Linked DNA regions of Homo sapiens: all the other regions are linked to region 1. The links are contacts of gene promoters, found by promoter capture Hi-C in blood cells and fetal thymus (Javierre and others, 2016). All regions are on one chromosome and are shown on one strand. The core of a region is centred on a gene start or on the middle of the fragment in contact, and the rest is flanking DNA. Distances in the headings are between cores, read along the strand shown. Region 1 holds the start of OR8K5 (olfactory receptor family 8 subfamily K member 5). Region 2 holds the start of OR5M9 (olfactory receptor family 5 subfamily M member 9). Region 3 holds the start of OR8U3 (olfactory receptor family 8 subfamily U member 3).

Evidence for each region. The method cuts DNA at HindIII sites, captures the fragments that hold promoters and counts their contacts. A CHiCAGO score of 5 or more calls a contact.
Region 2: the fragment with the promoter of OR5M9 here is called in contact with the fragment with the promoter of OR8K5 in region 1 in 5 of 17 cell types (neutrophils, naive B cells, naive CD4 T cells and 2 more); the score reaches 8.4 in neutrophils.
Region 3: a contact is called between the fragment with the promoter of OR8U3 here and the fragment with the promoter of OR8K5 in region 1, in 10 of 17 cell types (neutrophils, M2 macrophages, non-activated CD4 T cells and 7 more). The highest score is 15.8, in neutrophils.

The regions. Positions count from the first base shown.
Region 1 is chr11:56,158,712-56,162,025 of GRCh38, forward strand. OR8K5 (olfactory receptor family 8 subfamily K member 5) reads right to left here and starts at 1,606. Exons shown (of 1, transcript NM_001004058.2): 1 at 683-1,606. The coding sequence starts at 1,606. The coding sequence ends at 683. The HindIII fragment of the contact is 6,274 bases long and covers 1-2,568 here.
Region 2 is chr11:56,461,882-56,465,195 of GRCh38, forward strand. OR5M9 (olfactory receptor family 5 subfamily M member 9) reads right to left here and starts at 1,520. Exons shown (of 1, transcript NM_001004743.1): 1 at 588-1,520. The coding sequence starts at 1,520. The coding sequence ends at 588. The HindIII fragment of the contact is 10,097 bases long and covers 1-3,314 here.
Region 3 is chr11:56,416,513-56,419,826 of GRCh38, forward strand. It overlaps OR8U3 (olfactory receptor family 8 subfamily U member 3), which reads right to left and starts at 1,720. Exons shown (of 1, transcript NM_001004744.1): 1 at 746-1,720. The coding sequence starts at 1,720. The coding sequence ends at 746. The HindIII fragment of the contact is 8,358 bases long and covers 1-2,823 here.

The DNA of each region.
Region 1 (3,314 bases), core at 356-2,855:
CATTGAAAATCTGATATATATAAAGAAAATGTGATATATATATGACAAAAAGTGGACTCATATAACCAGAATATGATATACATATCACATTTTCTTTATATATACCATATATATATCAAATGATATATATAGATATCACGTTTTCTTTATCTATATATATGTGTGTGTGTGTGTATATATATATATATGTATATATATATATGATGGAATACTACTCACTTATAAAAAGGAACAAAATAATGGCATTCACAGCAACCTGGATGGAGCTGGAGACCTTTATTCTAAGTGAAGTAACTCAGGAATGGAAAACCAAATATCATATGTTCTCACTTATAAGTGGGAGCTAAACTATGAGGATACAAATAGGTAAGAATGACATAATGTATTTTGGGGACACAGGGAAAAGTGTGCAGTGTGGGCGAGGGATAAAAGGCTACACATTGAGTACAGTGTACACTGCTCAGGTGATGAGTGCACCAAAACCTCAGAAATTACCCCAATGAACTTATTCACATAACCAGAAACCTCCTACTTCCCAAAAATTATTGAAATAAAAAACAATTAAAAAAATTTGAAAATTGGAAAATTTATATACACATGAAAAATTATCAAGTGACATTAATCTATATTATATATTTATTATAACAATATTACAAATTGATTATTAAACACAAAGTTGACATCAATTCTCAAAGAGCTTATAGAAGGCATTTTTCACCTCTTCGTTTCTTAAGCTGTAAATCAAAGGGTTAAGCATGGGGATTACTAAAGTGTAAAACACAGAAGCCATTTTATCAGTATCAAAGAAGTGAGTGGAATTGGGCTGCATGTACATGAAGAGTAGAGACCCATAGAACACAACCACCACTGTCAAATGGGAACCACATGTGGAGAAAGCCTTTTTCCTGCCCTCTGCAGAATGCATTTGACATATAGCTAACAAAATCAACATGTAGGACACTAAGACTATCAGAAAGGAGGAGATCAAATTAAATACAGAAAATAGTATGCTCAACAATTCTATTTCCTGTGCATTTGAGCAAAGCATAGGTAGCAAAGGAACATCATCACAGTAAAAATGACTGATGACATTAGAGCCACAGAAGGTCAATGTAAAAATCTTAATAGTGAACATCAGAGCCTGAAATGTGCTGTAGAGATATTGAATGCCCACCAGTACATGACACAGTCGCTGAGACATAATAACATAATAGAGCAGAGGGTTACAAATGGCCACATAGCGGTCATAGGCCATGGCTGACAGGATGAAAAATTCACTGATAATGAACATAAGGAAGAATGCCAGCTGTGCAGCACATGCATAATAGGAAATAGTATTTCGATCCACAACAAAATTTGCCAGCACCTTGGGACAAATGACAGTAGAATTACCAAGATCAACAAAAGCCAAATGTCTGATAGAAAAGTACATAGGTGTATGTAAGTGGGAGTCCAGTTTGGTCAAAATGATCATAGTTAGGTTGCCCACCACTGTGATTAGGTAGATGACGAGGAAGACTCCAAAAAGGGGAATCTGCAGCTCAGGCCGCCTTGTGAGTTCCATCAGAATGAATTCAGTTAGCACTGTTAGATTGTGTTGGCCCATTTAGTCCAGTTATCTCTTCTAGGAAGAAACAGTTGGGTTATTAGCTGTTCCATGTAGTGCTATTTAAACAAATTATAATATTTGTAGACAGAATAGATTGTTATTCACAATAGATAATAGAAACATTATTTCTACATTTGATTCAGAAATGAAATATAAAGCAAAATTTTCTACTTTCCTAAAAGAGGAATTCATGTAAAATACATGCACTGAAACAACATAGATTAAATAGTTTCATCAATATTTGAAGTATATCGGTTAATAACACAGCCATATAGGTATTATTACAAAAAGATTATGCTCTTTTCATCTGCACAATGGTATCATGATTTTCTTTTGTTCACTTCCACTTTTGTTGTAAAACTTTTCTGTAATTTTGATATTCTCAAAGACAGAGGTAGAGATGGCAATAAGATAATGAAGGTTAAGATTTGGGGTCCCTCATTTGCACTTCCAGGGTCTTGTGTGGGGACTTACGAATGCACGCAAAAATGATATATCTTTGTAAAATTTCAAATGTAAGATATAATAATCATGATCAATTAAGGCTGCTTTCTGTTTTCATTCCAACTTCTAGTATATCACACTTCAACTAATATCATAGTGACTTGACATTTCTGCAAGCATTGTGGGATCTAGCTAAAGAAGGATTGAGTTAATAATAGTTTATTTGATGTTCAATGGATATGTTTATATCATTCAGACACTATGATATTTATCACTGAATAATACTACCTATTCTGACTTAAGAATGTCTTCTAAGGATACTCTTGCCACCTGTATGCTGAGATGCATTTGGCATTTGATTAATTAACATACTATATTAATAAATTTTATATAGTTTGTGGCCATGGGTTTGTTTACTAATTACAATTTAAAGCTAATTTTCTATTCTAAATAAATATTCCCATTTATCTTTCAACTTGTATGTGTAATTTTATCTAAAAAGTCAAATTCTTCTAAGCTTCAAGACACATAATCTGGATCCACTTCTGCAAAAACATGATTTAAATCAATATTCAGTGATGACTATTTAATTATATGTACTTTATTTTCTGTAATAAAACACTGTGAAGATGGTAGGTTCTATAAATCATTTAAATAATTTGAGAATTTAGGACATCATATATTAGTGAATGACTTTTTTTCTGGAATTGTACAGTGGAGTATTCATGGAGATATAATACTGTAATTAAAACTATTTCAATGAAAAGTACTTCTCCCTTTATTTAAAAAATACACGGGAAGTCAATAAAAGAAAGTGGAACGTCCCTGATACAGATAGTGAAGATGTCTTAGCCTATTCCACTTAAATTCCCCTCTCCTTCAGTTTCCACTCATTGAAAATCTGGAACTCTGTGAGAGTGACTTTCAATTGGAATAGTAACGGAATTTTCCACAGATCTAATGTAGAATAGATTTATTATAATGTAATGGAATGTCAGCTTTAGCCTGCACATCCCTCAGGTAGAAAACTCTGAAAACCCACCTAAAGATCCAAAACTACAGTTTGGAGCAGGTGCAGTCCACAGCCACACTGTGGCATTTGGCAACACTTCTAGGTATCTGCTCATTAGTGGGAGACATTTTGCCAACTTCATCTATGGACTACAGATGTGGGAAGGGGGCAACAGTGGAGGTTAGTGACCCTCTTCCATTCCTTCTCCCTAAATGAAGCTGTCTGCTGTTTCTCCATTGAACTTCACCC
Region 2 (3,314 bases), core at 270-2,769, 300 kb after region 1:
AACAGACCATTGAAACAAAACATTATTAACTATCAAATTATGTGAAATGATGACAAACAGGATTATATTAAGACACTAGTTTAAAATTCTAAATATAATTGCATTTTCAAAATTTTAAACACTTTTTAGGTAAACTGTTCATCAGTATTCTATGGCCATGAAAAAGAAATGAAGTATTTACTTTTTTCTGAGAATTTGTATATTTCACATGAAATCTAGTTTGAGGAATATGTATATGTATAAAGTACTCTGCAAAATAACATCCAACACTAACAAGCATACTTCCAACTTAACATATATGTATGTACACTCATTTGTGAGTTCCTCCAGTGACTAAACTTAGCCCAATTTTAAGCATATTGTGAATGAACATTGTGTCATCTTTCATAATATTGGCGCACATATAGGAGAAAATATGCTTAGTAATTAGAGTCCATACAAGGGGTAAAACATCACCCTGTTACATCAGACCTCTTAGTGTGTGAAAGAGTTACCTTTTGATACTGTTTTCTGAGCTAGGACTTTTACATGTGACCATTTATAACAGGACCCTATTTATAATAGGGACAACAATATCCACTACAGTTTTACTGCCTCACATATGTCTTGGTGATTGCTTTGTTGACTGCTTCTTTTACATCCTTATTTCTCAGACTGTAGATCATGGGATTCAACATAGGAATTACTGTGGTGTAAAACACAGCCACCATTTTGCCCTGCTCTACGGATTCCTCAGTGGGTCTCCTGAGATACATGAAGATGGGGGTCCCATAAAACATAGAAACAGCCGTCAAGTGGGACCCACAGGTGGAGAACGCCTTCCTCCTGCCATCGGCAGAGCGCATGCGTAGCACAGCTACTACAATGAGAGTGTAGGAGATGAGGACCACCGAGAGGGAATATGTGAAGTTAATTCCAGCAATAACAATCATTGTGATTTCTTTGATGTGCACTCTCCCACAGGCAATCTGGATGAGAGGGGGATCTGCACAATAGAAGTGATTGATTTCAAAGTTTCCACAGAAGTATAAGCCATAAGTCCATAGTGTGCATATTAGGCTGACAGAGAATCCATAGACATAAGGCACAGAGATGAGCCGAACACACACAGTCCTAGACATTTTACTGCCATAAAGCAGAGGGTTGCAGCCGGCCATGTACCTGTCAAAGGCCATCACAGCCAGGATATAGACCTCCACGTGGACAACGGCAATGAAAAAGTAGCACTGCACCAAGCATCCCACATAGGAAATGGTTTTTGTCTCTGATAATAAGTTTTCCAGCATTTTGGGGGTAACGTTGGAGGAGAAGCACACGTCCGCAAAAGACAGATGACTCAGGAAAAAGTACATGGGACTCTGAAGCTGAGGACTGATGCTAATCAAAATGATCATACCAATATTTCCCAACAGAGTGATCATGTAAACCGCTAGGAACACCACAAAAAAGAGAACCTGTAGCTCCTGACGACAGGTCAGCCCCAGGAGAGTAAATTCTGTCACATCCGTGAAATTAGGCATTGCCTTAGTATAGGCCAAGTCTGTGTTGCCTATGGAGAAATTGTTTCAAAAGGAAAGTAAATGAATTTGTTTTATTCTTGAAACTGAGTTGCGTTTGTCCTTATTTTAATTCAAATAATTTAAAAACAATGTACACTTTGCAAAAATGTACAATACAGGGTTTAAATATACTATACATAAAATGAACTGAATATATAACATAATAGACATTGCAGTTTTAGTTCTGATCCAACTTTCCTTTGCTATAGATGTCCATGATTGTAGTTTCACTTTTTTGGCTCATTATAAATGTCAAACTAGGTAAAGAGCTGCAGATGCTGTGGTCAGAGATTTTCCTATGTAAAAATTTCTGATCTCTACTGGTTTCCTGTTACTAACAGAATTTGACTTGGGTTAGTGTTACTACTGTATTAAGTATAAAATATATGAAATAAAGCATCAAGGCATCTAAGAAACATAAACTAACACTACATTTTGTTTCAGTCACAGTGTGATGTACTTTTCTTATTTTACACAAAATCATTAGCGCTTTAGCATTTAGGTTGCTGCAAAAGTTATTGTGGGTTTTGCCGTTACTTTCAATGGCAAAAATGCAATTACTTTTGTACCAGCCTAATATTAGTTTGTTTTGTTTACCTTGAAACTCCTTAAACTGTCTTGCTTAGTAGTTACATTTAACAGAAATTTAGAAATAGTTATACATATGATTTCTACATGCCCTGATCTCTAGATCCACTAAACATAGTACAATAATCCAGTATAATTAAAACTCTCTAAGAAATATTTTTCTAGAGGCAACAGTCCCAGCCTTGTAATACTTATAAGAATAGCTGTTATTGAATGTTCAGGAAAACTCTTCTACGCAAATGTCCTGTAAAACAGGTTTTATTTGCATGACCATTTTACAAATGAGGAAGCTAAACACTGAGAGATTAAGAAAGTCTCCCTGGGTCAGAGGTCTACTAATTAGCAGAATTGGGATGCAAACAAAATCATTTTAGTGTTGTGTCTTTAACAATCTTCTATTGCTGCATCTTTGACAGCCTCTTCTACCATTATATTTCTTTTCATTTGAAATTCAGTTTGCTCATCCTCCACAATATGTGGAAGTTATCTCTTTCATAGTTCATCTTTAATGGACTTTTAAGAGCTTTGGTTACCCCAGAGCAGCCTAAACCACTGAGATAGTAAATCACTGCAACTCTCTACTTGTCCAAGTTTATCATCCCAGGATCAGATGATAATGATTTCTGGGAGAAAATTAATTTAATACCTAAATGTGTATCATCTATCAAAATAATCAAGAAGATTGAATTTGTAATCGACAAATAAAACCCAAAATTCATTTCTATTAACACTTCAGGAATTTTTCATGAAGAAAACCAGTGAAGGCATAAATTACTGGACCAATCATGCCAACTGACCCTATATCCCCAACTCCATTCATACATATATTTAAACAATATTATGAAAGTTAATAGTTTTTGTCTGTAAAAGAGAATGAGAGGACAAAAAATGAGAAATGAGGAGTTTTGCAAATCTTCATTATAATAAGCTCATTCTTACAAAGTTTTCAACAAACCAGGGATAGAAATACAAAAAGTTCCCAATAATATAATTTCATACAAGAAGACACTCTGATAACAAAATAAGTCTGTGAATAAGGTATTAGTTGCCTCTTCAAGACAGAGAGTGAAATTAAAATATTTGACTACATCAATCTCTATTGTAATGAGTGAAAAACTTGCAGACCTACCTTCAGCATAGAGAGTAGAAAATGATAACTTCTCACTA
Region 3 (3,314 bases), core at 470-2,969, 260 kb after region 1:
GTAGCAAGTAGGACTACTTGACTAATTAGCCTTGAAGACCTTAATGAATTTATTTTTTAATAGTTTTATGTTTTGGTTTGTTTGTTTGTTTGTTTTTAGAGAGAGAGAGAGAAGGTCTCGCTATGTTGCCCAGGCTGGTCTTGAACTCCTGGGCTTAAGCAATCCTCCCACCCTTGACTCCTAAAGTGCTGGTACTACAGGTGTGAGCCACTGTGCCAGGCCAAATAAATTCATTTCTAACTTTATATAACAAACATTTATATACCTAAGGCTTCCAAAACACTTATTATCACTGGATATTTTTCTAAGCATTTCATAAATATTAACCTGTACAATCCTTAAAAAAAGAGCAATGAGTTAGGTCCTATTATTTCCCAGACTTGGAGACAAAGCCACACAAAATTTAGCTCAATTTTCCAAGGTTGCAGAGCTAATATGAAGGAAATAGTGTTCAAACTCAATCTTGTTTCAGCATCCCAAACTCTAACAAAAACATGCTGCTGCCTTTGCTTTAAATACACCTATGAGTGTTTGCATATATGAGTGTGTCTCTGTTTGTATTTGAACGTGGTTTCAGTGGTCTGCCAAGACTGTGATGGCCTGAATTGAATGCTTTAATTCGTACTGATTTTTCATGATCTGCCTGGTTCTTGCAGAAAATGTCAAGGTCCATTAAAGTAACAGCTACATTTTCAGTTCATTGGGAAATAATTACAAGAAAAAGTTTGATTTATTTCCTGCTTGTTTAATAAAGTTTTCTTATTTTTAAAAATGTTAATATCTGTAAGTTTTCACAACCTTTATCCAAGGCTTTCTTTGAGGCATCTTTCACTTCTTTGTTCCTTAGACTATAGATTAGGGGGTTTAACATGGGGATCACCACTGTGTAAAATACAGAAGCCATCTTGTCTGTGTCCAAGGAGTGATTTGATTTGGGCTGTAGGTACATAAAGATCAGTGTGCCATAGAAAATAGTGACAGTCACCATATGGGAGCCACAGGTGGAAATGGCTTTGTGTTGCCCCTGAGTAGAGCGGATCCTTAGGATAGCGGCAATAATAAAGATGTAGGAGGTGAGGACAATGGAAGAGGAAGAGATCATATCAAAGCCAGCAAAGGCAAATATCAGAATTTCCTTCATGTGTGTGTCTGAGCAGGACAGAGCTAAGAAGGGGAGGTCATCACAATAGAAATGGTTAATTAAGTTTGGGCCACAGTAAGTCAGACGGAAAGTGATAACGGTGTGGAAGAGGGCAACCAGGAAGCTGTATATATATGGAACTGCCACCAGTTGAATGCAGACTCTTCTTGACATCAGTGTTGAATAATGCAGGGGACTACAGATGGCGACATAGCAATCGTAGGCCATGGAGGCTAGAAGGAAACACTCAGTGATCATGAAGGTGAGAAAACAACCCAGTTGGGTTGCACAAGCATGGAAAGGAATGGTGTTGCGTTCCACAACAAAATTCACCATCATCTTCGGTGTAATAGCAGAGGAGTAACAAAGGTCAACAAAGGCCAGGTGGCTGAGGAAATAGTACATAGGTGTGTGGAGTCGAGTATCAATCTTGATTAAAGTAATCAACCCAAGATTGCCCAGCACTGTGACCAGATAGATAACTAAAAACACCCCAAAGCACGGGGCCTGAAGCTCTGGCCGGTTGGTAATTCCTTTCAGAATGAATACAGTGACATAAATGATATTAACTTCAGCCATTTATCCTAACAGGTTTTGTAGATTTTGTCGCAGTTGAAAAATAAAAAAGATACTTCTCATGTTCCCTGTCAGTGTTGGGTAAAGGTGATGATTGTTGTCTTCTTGCCTTGAATCATATCATCATGTGGGCAAAAACATACATCTTACCTCTCTAATGACAGAGGCCAATCTTGCCTGAGGGAGGGGAGTCTTTTACTTGCAGAATAGTAAATAGACCACCTTAAGAAATATTTTGCTTTGTAATTTTAGAAAATAAGAGAAGATGTTGGTTAAAATTATATAGTATGAAACCGCTTGTGACAACTGACACTAATATTTCAATGTTTTTGCTGCCATTAAAAATCTTATATATTTTCCATGCATATATAACAGAACAAAAATATTGAATTTATAGACGTGACCACATTTATATTTCCTTATTTTTCGGTTTTGTGCGTGCTTCCATAAAATATGTCAAAAATAGATCAAAATAATTTTAGAGCTCCTATGAACTATTCAATTTGCTATATTCCTTCCCACATTTATATAGAATAAGTAATTTATGCTGTAGAAATGGAAAGAAATTTGATCAGAAATATGAGAAAGGAAACATTCAGTTGTAAAAAGTTTTATGGAAACATATACTGGTGGGTGGAGTTTTTGATGCATCTTTTAGGATAATTATAATTATTTGTATTTCTACCAGCCCTGAAAAAAAGAGGATTCATCTTGTTAAGCCCAATATTAGCCTATTTAAACTTTAATTTGGTCCTGGCTTTATTTTTCAAAAAATAGAATCATGAAATATTAACTAGAAAATGCTTTGAGAGATCATCATATCTAACCACTTTGTCTTTCATATTCCATTGATTAGTACTATTATTATTTTATCTATTGCAATTGAGTGATGTCCTTATCAGATATTCTGAGTGCATTACATGAATTAAGATAGTCTCTTGCTTACCCTATGAGGAAGGCTCTCACCCATAACTCCTTATAAACATTGGAAAAATCCGACTTTCTGGTGATGGTCACAGAGTATTAGTGTGACTATGTATAACTGACAGCAGAGCCCATATTTCTAATCATCCTTATGCTGCCCAAGTGTAGTGGTTTGTTCCTTAAGCTTTAATCGCCGGGATGGATGGAAGAACGAGGCTAAAGTGTCAAACTAAATGTTTAAAGCTTACAGAAGACAAACATGAAAACTGTAGTTTTCCAAAGATTGCTAAGTTTTCATATACTAGGTCAAAGTAAAATAGAAGACTCCTAAAACATATATATATATATATATATATATATATATATATATATACACACACACACACACACACACACAGATGCATAGACATATACATATATACATATATATTGCTATTCTCAGTAAATAACTGTTTCGTTCATGAATATTCAAAAGTGAGAATTATCTGACTTACATATGGGACTTGAATATGCTCAATTTTTTTTCACAAAGGATTTTATGTCAATTCGAGCTGTGAAGTTATAATTTGAACCCTAATTGAGGATAATTATAAGGCTATCCCACAATGTAAAAGTAAATAGACCACCTTCACTGAAAAATAGTGTCAGGGAAAGAGGTTTATCTACCATTTAT